Regions from separate parts of the Homo sapiens genome. Here region 2 is linked to region 1. Evidence: promoter capture Hi-C in 16 types of primary human blood cells and fetal thymus (Javierre and others, 2016). All regions are on one chromosome and are shown on one strand. The core of a region is centred on a gene start or on the middle of the fragment in contact, and the rest is flanking DNA. Distances in the headings are between cores, read along the strand shown. Region 1 holds the start of BTBD9 (BTB domain containing 9). Region 2 overlaps ZFAND3 (zinc finger AN1-type containing 3).

Evidence for each region. Contacts are between HindIII fragments. The CHiCAGO score rates a contact against its expected background, and 5 or more counts as called.
Region 2: a fragment that was not itself captured here is called in contact with the fragment with the promoter of BTBD9 in region 1 in 2 of 17 cell types (naive B cells and M2 macrophages); the score reaches 5.4 in naive B cells.

The regions. Positions count from the first base shown.
Region 1 is chr6:38,637,599-38,643,017 of GRCh38, reverse strand. It overlaps BTBD9 (BTB domain containing 9), which reads left to right and starts at 3,089. Exons shown (of 11, transcript NM_001099272.2): 1 at 3,089-3,218. It overlaps LOC105375044 (a long non-coding RNA gene), which reads right to left and starts at 2,623. Exons shown (of 3, transcript XR_926767.4): 1 at 2,534-2,623. RefSeq lists enhancers at 2,747-2,826, 2,627-3,127 and a silencer at 3,227-3,426. The HindIII fragment of the contact is 9,229 bases long and covers 2,046-5,419 here.
Region 2 is chr6:38,031,064-38,036,482 of GRCh38, reverse strand. The region is part of intron 2 of ZFAND3 (zinc finger AN1-type containing 3); the gene reads right to left. Among named protein-coding and RNA genes, the nearest start is that of ZFAND3, 210 kb to the right of the region's middle. The HindIII fragment of the contact is 328 bases long and covers 2,244-2,571 here.

The sequences.
Region 1 (5,419 bases), core at 1,840-4,339:
ATCAGATATGACAAAAAATAAAAAAATAAAACTGGGGGGATTATCTAGGAATTAATGAGAAAATCATAGACTCAGCTTGATCTCATCCTTTGCCAGATGCGAAAACCAAAGCCTGGAGTAGTTGAGGGATTTGTTCAAAGTTATCTAGCTAGTTAATGGCCAGAATCAAGACTAGAATCTCAAAACTCCCATCAAACTAGTCTAGAGGCCAATCCACTATATTGATCTGCCTTTCAGATCTCAGTGATTTGGTATCTATCTCCACTATCCCACTGAAGTTTGCTATTGTTGGTTACCAATCACTTTTCTGTTGCTAAATCCAGTGAATGCTTTCCAGTTCTTGATATACTTGGCCTTTTTGTGGTCTCTGACTCTGTTGACCCCTCTCCATCTTGCTTGCTTGGCTTCAGAGGCATTAGGCTCACCTAGTTCTCCTTTTCTCTCTCTGGCCATTCTTCCTCAGACTTCTTTTTGGGCTTCTGATCATCTGCACCTCCTTTTAAAGTTAGTGCTCTCCAGGGGCCCTATCCTTGCCTCTCCTTATTATGTCTTCTGTATTTTCTCCCTGATTGATCTCATCCATGCCTCGGGCTTAAATTACCAATTATTAATTTATTTCTTCCAAATCTATTTTAACTCAACCTCTTTCCTCATTCATAGACCTGTACAGTTTGAGTGTTTATTGGACATTTTTCTCTAGATGTGGAGGTTCCATCAGGTCACAGTCATATTGCTATAGTCTCTGAGGGGACCTACTGAATTGTACCCTTCTTTTCCAGGTAATGGAGAAAGCTGCAGGAAACCAACTATTATCTTTATTACTGACTGTATCAGTTTCCTATTGCTGTTGTAACAAGTTAGCACAAACTTGGTACCTTAAAACATACAAGTTTCTTATCTCGCAGTTCTAGAAGTCAGAAGTCCTAAAATCAAGGTGTTGGCAGGGCTGTGTTCTTAGGGTGCTAGAGAAGAATCCATTTCCTTGCCTTCTCCCGCATCTACAATTTGCTTGCGTTTCTTGGGTCCATCTTCAAAGCCAACAGTATAGCATCTTCAAATCTCTGTCTGACCTCTGCTTCCATCATCACATCTCCTTCTCTGACTCTGACCCTCCTGCCTCCAGCCCAGTCAGACAATCCAGGATAATCTCCCTAGATACATCATTTAATCATATCTGCAAAGTCCCTTTTGCCACATAATATAACATATTCATGGGTTCTGAGTATTAGGGTGTGGTCATCCTTTTTTTTTTGGTTGGGGGGGATCATTATTCTGTGTAACACAGCTGACAAAGCTGGTATTAAATATTATCTGTGGACAGACAGCTTCCTAATGCCAAACTCTGGAATTAAATACATATACTCTCTTTGTAGCCCTGGACTAGGCACCCTTGTCCCTACCCACAGGCCCTGCTCCAGAAGAAACGGAAAAGAACACCAGGACAGTTCCCTGAAGATAGTTATCTTTTAAGAGAAAAAGAATGGGATAGATGCCACATGTCCAGTTTCTCCCATTTAAGTTCACCAATCAGGAAGTCACTCCTCTAGGCAAGAGTGAGTTGCAGACAGGTATAAGAGAAACCAGGAGAGTATTACACTAATGGATATCATTCCATATGGAAGAAAGACATTGTGAATGGAGAGTAAATGTTTCCCTAACAAACATATCCATATTTGAACTCATCATCATACTCCACATATCTGGTCATCCTCCTAAGAAATGTCACCATCACTATCTATAATAGTAACTTAGACACTTGTGGATAATCAAGACTCATGTAGCTTGCCATCTTGCTAAATGTTACCACTGTCTACCTCAGCACTCATGCTAGAAACCTGGCCTACTCATTTATCCGCACTCAGTGCTGTGAATTCTACCACCTTAATGGCGCTAACATCTATCCCCTCCTCTATTCCCACTGCCAATGCCTTGTTTAATGTTCTTATCACTTGTCTGGAGTACTGCAATGGCCTAAAAATGGGTCTCCCTGCCCCAAGCCTTGCTTTTCCTGACCATTTTCACTTTCTACTTTTACTCATGAAGCTTCCTTTGCCCGGAATTAAGTCCTTCCCAATTTGTCTCCTCCAACAACTGCAAGGGCGGTCCCCTAGCTTGCTCCAGCGTCGGGGATAACTGACTTTCCTACACCAGCTACAGTCAGACCTGCACCCGGATTTCTAGGACTCTTATCTATGTAGATAGATAAATACATTTTTTTGAGACAGTGTCTTGCTCTCACTGCAGAGGCTGGAGTGCAGCGGCGCGATCACGGTTCACTGCAATCTTGAACTCCCCAGGTTCAAGCGATCCTCCCACCTCAGCCCCCCGAGCATTTGTGACTACAGGCGCGCGCCAACATGCCCATTTAGTTTTTGTCTTTTTTGTAGAGACGGGGTTTCACTATGTTACCCAGGCTGGTGTCGAACTCCTGAGCTCAAGCGATCCGCCCACCTCGGCCTCCCAAAGTGCTGGGATTACAGGCTTGAGCCACCAAGTCAAATGGGCTTTATACTTACAAAGTACCTTTGCATACCTTATTTCATTTTCACCTCACAATTCTCCAGCGTAGGCTGGACCGGTATTATTATGCCCATTTACTGAGAGAGGAAACTGAGAGTCAAGGCTGGGCCAGTCACACCCTGCTGCGAAATTAACGAGCATCACTTAGCAGCCTCGACATTAACCGCGCTCGCGCTCTCATCCCTTTCTGGTCCTACTCCTTGGAGAACCTTCCTGCACCTCCAAGAACTTGCCGATCGGGTCTGCGGCGGTCTGGACGAGGTCACTCCACAGGCGCCCAGGACCTTCTCATCCGTAGTGACGTGCGCCGGTGACGCCATACAGTGACGTGTGGTGACTCGACTTACCCGGAGCCAGGTGCCGGCAGGGCAGCCACACCCTGGGGCCCCCTGTTCTGGAGGGGCAGAGGGTCGGGCCGATGCGAAAAAGCCGCGGAAGCTGCCTTAGGCGACTTTCTGGGCCTGCATCGCCGGACCCAGCAGCCCGCTGTCGATCGGTTGCTAAGTGACGCCAGCGCGCAGTGGCGCGTGCGCGGCCACGGCGGAGTGCGTGAAAGCGGACGCGCGCCGCAGCAGCCGGGGCGGCGGCGAGGACGGCGGCCACGGAAGCGGCCAAGGGGGCGGTGGCGCAGAGAGGGGTGCGGAGCGGGCGGAAGAGGCGTCTGTGTCGCAGCTTGGTCTCAGAGGAGCATCGCTGGGGTGAGTAGCCGGGTCCTTGCAGGGGAGGTGGGGCCTGGCCGCACCTGCGGCGCGGGGACGCGCGCCCCCGCCGTATCCGCGCGCACCGCCCCCCGCCCCTCCGCCGCTTTTTCCGGGGGCGGGGGAGGAGCTGGGACGGGGCCTGACGAGGGTCATTTCTTGGGCCCGGGTGCTCTGGGAGAGCGGTAGCCGTCCCGTTCGCAGTCCACGAAGGTGTAGTGGGAAGTAGACGTTTCGGGGATTCGGGGTGGCTCTACCAGCCTCCCAAAGAGAGGAGTTCGAATCAGGGGCAGCCCAGGTTCCCTAGCAGTCTCGTATCCTGTCTGAGACGACGTTGCCTGGGACTGAGGAGGCGAAACCCGGGACCCCGGGGTGGGGGTTTGGAAAGTTTGGGACTGCTGGGGCCCTCATCTCCCCTGCCCTGGCCAGCCTCTGAGTAGGAGCTGGTTGTTATGGAGAGAGTTGTGAATCAGTGCCTGCGTGCGGCATCAGACACACCCACGACCTTGGGAGGGCGACCTGTCAGTATAGATCCGGGGCAGCCAACCTGTTGCCTAGAGTTTCTAACTTCACATGTATGTGCATGTGTTTCCTTGGCGTTTTAGTACATTGTTGTTACAGATTTTGAGACCAAGGTGCTGATAGGCATCCTCATTTCTTACTTCCTCATAGACTTAGTTATCTTGCTATATTTCCCAGAACCGTGTTGTGCTTTTGTCATTAGTAGATCCAAGGAAGTATGGAAGCATGTTTTGTTTGTTTTTCCTAAAGGCAGTACAGGCTGCTATTTTCTGGGCAGAAAATACGGATTCTGTTCACTGTGTGGGCGGAAAGTGTTGATGATGGGAGAACCCAGCATGTAAAGGTGTAGCTCATCCTCAGCCCTGTGCTGTCTTCTCAGTGCTCTGGACTCTATCATGGGTAGATGTATAGGGGTTGTGGTTACCATACTTGGGAGCGAGGAATATTGGAGACAGGGAAGAAGCCAGTCTTTTCTTTCTGTTGATTAAGGCAATTTGTAGAACCAGTGAAAAGATAGGCTGTACTGAAATCTAATGTTTTGTGTAAGAGGATAGAGGAAAATAAGTTCAAGGTTCTCATTTAGGTCTAAAATTCTATGATTCTGTTTCATAACTGAGAATCTGTAAAGTATGTTACCTCTTGGAACCAGTAATAACCTTGCTTTGTAACACTTATTAGATTACTCGGAATTCAAAGTGTCTTCCTCCCTCCACTGTAATAGCTTTTAGGACAGGAGTCATCTGTGTTTTCCTCCTTGCCCTATGTCTAACACATAGGAAAAATGTGCTTGCCACAGAGTAGGCATGCAATGGATATTTGTTATATAGCACACTATGCTCAAGTGGTGTATCTATGTATAGAAAGCATTGAGTTCAGTCCATCAAGTACTTAATACATGTGCCTCCCTCTGCCCAGTATCATGATAGGTGTGGGAGGAGGATTATGGAGTGAAAAATGACATAGAAGACCTGTCTTTTTTTTCCCTTTGAGAGCAGTAGTCTAGCTAGGAGATGTATAAAATAATTATAAAACCAAGTTAAGTAGCAGGTAACCAGTGCTGTTTGAGGACTATAAATGTGGTAGAAAATCAGAAAAGATAGGATGTGTAGGCTGAGTTAGGGAACTCTTTGAAAGAGGCAAGATTTGACTTGGTCTCTGAAAGAAGTTAAAATTTGTTAGGAAATAAACCAGGAGCTGAGAAAATAATAATGTGAATTTGGTTGTTGGAGGATATACCAAGACGACTTTTATGTCTGGTAACTGGAGCGGAACGTCTCTTATAGGGGAATACTGGAGAGAGATGGCTTAGCAGGTTGGGAAGGCAAAGTGTTAAGGATTAAGGCGGGCTTATCAGCATCCCACTGTTAACAAGATACAGCCTTCTTGTAAGGTGGGATAGAGGTTGTATTAATCAGAGTACAGTCTTTGACAAGAATAAGTGTTATCCTTACTTGAAAGTAAAGGATATTACGCTTGAACCAATATCAGGTTGTTAATATACTTTTGATTTCAATTACTAATTGGAATCGATGCCTCACTAATGTGCATGTATTTTAGGTAGTCAGTGGTGCATGTCTCATTATCTAAAATCTACCTGATGTACTTGGGCCATTGTATTGGAAATTTACTGAAATGATGTACCAATAGTCATCCAGTCACACTCAGTGACATAGTTTTGC
Region 2 (5,419 bases), core at 1,158-3,657, 610 kb after region 1:
AGTTTTTCTGCATGAATTTCTGTTGAAAACTGGACATTTTAGATAATACAACCAAGTCTGGTTATGTACCCTCTATCCTCCTCTCCTATCCTATCCCTGTTCTGGTGTTGCTTGTTGTTTGTTTAGTGGCTTGGCTGGAATAATTCTGTGAAGCCTATTTACCCTGCAGTATGCAGCTTCTGATGTCCCTGCTCAGATTTTTTTCCTTGTTTTTATCTTTCAGCCTGGCTTCTTAGGGGTCACCCCTGGGTTCACATAAACTTCTTACTGGTCAAAGGTAGTGCTTAAGCTTCCTTAGCCAGTTAGATTTTCACCCTTTACTAATGAAAATATGTGGTGCTTGGAAACTGCTATCACATTTCAGGGAATATATTATTCTGTCCTGTCTTTAGCCAGGGAGAACAGACTCAAGAGTCTGGGAGAGAGGGGACCCTGAATTCTTGGCTGCACTCTCCTGGAGGAGACTTTCCATAACATGGAGCTGGGAGAGGTAATGGATGGAAGCTGGTTGTGGCTCAAATGCCACAAGGTCTCCAGTTCTTACTGAGATTTAGTAGACTTTATTGAAAGTATTTCTCCATTTGCTGTGTGCCCTTAGGACAATTTCCAGAGACTTTAAATGTTTTGCTTTAAATAATTTTAACTAAATGGCCTTTTCACCTAGAAGGTCAACCAAGCTCCACACACCAGCATTCTAGAAATTCCCACCCTAAACAATTTCTAGAAAATTAAAACATGGATATGAGATAGAATCTGCACCTTTCCTAGATTAGTGGTGTTTGCTGAGTTCTTGAATGACTCAATACTGCTTACACAACAGTTCATATTACAGAAAAAGAAAAGGCAGGAATTTGTATTAAGTACAATAAGAGAATTACATTAATGAGGATCTCCCATATGCTAATTAAGCAACCTAAGTTTACTATTTCGTCAGTGTCTAAATATAAACAATATTGATAACTCAGAACATGGGTACCTAAGAAAACAAATCACCCTCTCTCCCTTTTTGAGGATTATTTTTAAGACTTTCAAAGCTAAAATACACAATTATTATATATGTATTATCTTGGTTGCTTAGAAACCGTGAGACACGTCCTGAATAAGCAAAATTAGAGCAGCATAAGGAGGGAACCCTTTGTTAAAAAGAAGTTTAGAGAAAAATGCCTTGGCTATGATAATATATTTTGAAAATGAGACTGCAAAGTAAAGAAACATAATAGAAGATTCGGGATGTCACATGTGAAGATATTTTCTTAAGCAAAATACTTTTAAGTATTTCTTACTGCTCTCGAGTTACACACTTCAGCTATAGTTCACCAAGGAAAAAGAACTTTAATGCATGTATAAAACTTCCATAATCCCATGCATCAAAAAAGCCACCAAGAAAGAAAAGCAGGCCTATATTTATGAACCCCGAAAGCTCAACAGGAAATCAACTTTACACTAGGCCCAGGAAGTGTAAAAACTTAAATTTCCAGTAAACTGTGACTATTTAACAGCACAAATTAGAAGCAAGACAACCATCAACAATCCTATACATGTAATAGGAACCTTCTTATGTGCTGCTATTTCCATACTTAGAAAAAATAAAAATAAAAATAAAACCCTTTTTGGGAAGTGGTATGAGAACAATTGTATGTATCAAATTAAAAGTCAAATTTGAAGTATTAATCAAAAAGGCCTATGGGAAAATAAATACCATTCAATGAACAAGCTACAATTCCTGCTGAGGACTCAACTTAATTCCTCTTTTGTCTAGATCAACTTTTTAAAATGCCTAGAAGTCCCTATTTGGGGAGAAGATCCATTATCAGCTTTTGACAAAGAATCTTTTTTTCTTCCCCTTTTTAAAATATTAATTTTGAAGCCACACTGGAAAAAATGATCTTGTTTATTTTTAGTTACATTGGTCAAGAATCTTTCAAAAGATACTGCATATTTTTCAAGACAAGCCAGCAAACACATGATGTGCTCCCTCTGCTGGCTTTGCAGTAGTTCTTTCTTAGATGCTCCTTATATCTTGAACTGGAAATGCAAATACTTTTTTCCTAATAAAATAACTATCAAAGGGTGATACATCCCAGTATAATATATCAGGCGGCTTTTCAGTAAAGCAGGTTTAGCAACAGTATATTAGGCCAACCCCAATGGACTTTATCCTTTCTTATTCTGCATTATTTTCTTGCATTTTAACATCTCCATTTCTTGCATGGGTTGGAGTAGAGGTGGAGAAGGTAAAAGCTTCATACAAAGAGAAAAGGAAGAGACTAGTTTGCCCCACTAAATAAAAACACTGTAGATGCAATCTGGCACATTTAAGTTCACACAAAAGATGAAACTGAATGTAAAACATAATAGGCTTTTCTTAAAAAGCTGAGGAAATCACTGTTTAAGAAGCCCAACATTGTACTACCACTTTTTTTCAGATCCCTAAATGGACAAAAGGTTAGAAAATCAATGCACAAGCTAGAAAATATTTTTTCATTAGAAGTCTTTTTAAATTCTAGAATTTTAAGTCATTTGTAAAATAAAATTTATTTTGAAACAGTAAGTACCCTTTTAAACAAAGCTTTAACTCTGCTTGTTTAAATAAGCTATTAATTTTAATTATTTTGCCAAGTGCCATTAAATAAATGTCACAAGAGTTGTCATAGAGATACCCTGTGATTGACTGACTGACTGAGCTATCCCTGAAAGCTTTCAGAGAGAACATGAAAATCTACCTGCTTCTTGGCTATCAGTAAAACAAAAGATAGAAGGAGTTTCAATTCAAGGCACAGTTGCTAATTATGTAACAAGTACAGTCAATTATAGGCACTGACATAGAAAACTGTGGATTGGCATGTAAAATTCAGTACAAATAGAGAAATGAGTAAATGGAAAGGTGAATAATCTTTTCAGACACAGCTGAATTACTGCTTTAAACTACTAGCTGTCACACACATGCTGTTCTAATTACCTGGTTAAAGCAGCCTGCAGGCCATTCCTTGTGAACCCCTGTCTTAAAATGAGGTGACGAGGGGAAGGTTGCAATAAATATAAGTTCTATTAACTAGGTCAAACAAGTGGCTGGTGCAATGACATCAACTCTAGCTAGAGAAACATTTCAACTTGATTTACACAGAGAAAGGCAAAATTTCCTTTTTTAAAAAAATAATGAAGATTGGAAAAGCTGGATTAATATTTTCCAGCCTATTCCTGAATACAACATCCCTTCTCATTATAGATGAGAGTCTATATTATATGATGTTTAGTTTCTAGAGAGAGTAAACTAAATCCAACCCCTTTCTGATCTTCTTACAGGTCTAAATAAATTATTTCAAACAGCTCTCAGGAATTTAGCTCTTGGATAAGAGTTTACTTGCAGCCATTTTGGTTAATGTGTTTAAATTTTTCAGCTAGCAGGCTTCCATTTTTTTTCAGTAAGTTTCTCACTGCCTTCCTAAAGGATACAGCTTTAGCCCACAAAGTAACTATGACAGCCTTTGTATTAGCATTCCGGGGAGGCAATCAAGGCTTGGGTCTTATACAGAGTAGCAACATGGACTCTGCATAGTACATTCATACACACAAAACCAAAACTTATCTTTACATTTTAGTTCCTAGATTTGAATAAATAATAATAATTCAATTTCAAACACACCACTCAAATCAATGAAATGCTAATTATAAGCAAAGAAGTTTTCTACGTTCATGGTAAGATAAGACATGGCATCTACTGTGCAGGCACAACTTCAGCTAAATAAAGTTCAGGGACTCTTTTGTGCTTTGCTTGATCACCATTCCCCTCCACAGTTATTAGATAATCAACTCCTCCCAGCTGCTCTTAATGTTAGCTTTTAATAAAGAGATGAAGATATTTATCAAATGCCCTTTGAAAACAATTAGACCTCTACCTTTCCCAAGAGTTCTTCAGTACATTTTAAGTAAAGTAGGTGCTCAGAGTTTTATTCTCTTTTGGGTAATGAGGTCCATGTCTTCCTATAATCTGCTCTGACACTAAAGACACTTCCTATCACAGCTCCATGACCACTGAGCAGAGTTCAAATGACATTTCTGATACAACTTAACTGTCTCAAAGACTTGACAAAAATGTTCTCCACAAAATTATTTCTATTGGTGAAACTTTCAAACAACTGACATATTCAATGATAAAATAGTTAAATTATAATACGTCCTTTTAGCCTAGGATTATACCATTAAGAACATTTTCAAATATTATCTTTGCTATAAAATATAAATCTTGTAACTATTATATTGATTATATTACAGTAATCTATAATAGTATTACTAGCACTCTTATAGTAACATAGATAAATGCTCATAATACATTAAAAAATGCAGCATACAGGCCAGGCATGGTGGCTCACGCTTGTAATTCCAGAACTTTGGGAGGTTGAGGAGGGAGGATCACTTGAGCACAGGAGTTAGAGACCAGCCTGGGTAACATGACCCAGACCTCATCTATACTAAAAATCCAAAAATTAACTGGGCATGGTGCCATACCCCTGTAGTCCCAGCTACTTGGGAGGCTGAGGCGGGAAGATCACTTGGGTCCAGGAGATTGAGGCTGCAGTGAGCTATGATGACACCACTGCAAGGACCTGGGTGATACAGCAAGACCCTGGGACAGCGTGGGGCGGGGGGGGAGGGGCAGAATATGAAACTGTAAGTTGGAGTCTACATATGCATAACAAAGGAGATACATTAAAAGGTATTAAAATGGCTACGTGGGTACTCTACTGGGCAATTAAGTGTTATCTCAATTAACCAACAAAACTTTAAGGCGGTTATAATTATTAATATCTTCATTTACAATTGGAGAAGCTAAGGCTCCTAGAGGTTAAGAAATTTGCTCAGAATCACAAAGCTAGGAAGTGATAGAGTCAGGATACAAGTACTCAAGTCTACTGGACTCCAAAGTCTGAGAACTTTCCTCCAGCACGAAAGAAAGATGCCATAACTGAGACAGGCTTGCAAGTATATAATGAATTGAGGACAGGACTGAACATGCTAAAGGGAGTTTGTTGTTTCCCGAAGGGCAAAGTAAGAAAATGGCTGAGCATAGTGGGGTCACAGATAAAAGTTTAAGGCATAAAACATAGATCTGCTGAAGATCAGGAGAATGGCTTAATGACAATAGTAGTATAGAAGATGAATCTGAAACTTTATTAAGTATTGAGGAGATGAGTCAGAAGGTGAAAGAAACTTCTAGCAAAATCCAGGTATGTGATTACAGAGTAACTAAGTATTTTTGAAAAAGAGGGGACCCAAATACAGAGGCAAACAAACAGGTAGTAGCACCAAGAACGGAGAAGAAACAAAAAACTACGTAGTGAAAAAAGCAGCACCTTGGATACAGAAAGACCTGGGTCCTATCTTGGCTACGTAACCTTAAGAAAGGTTGGCTCTTTCCACT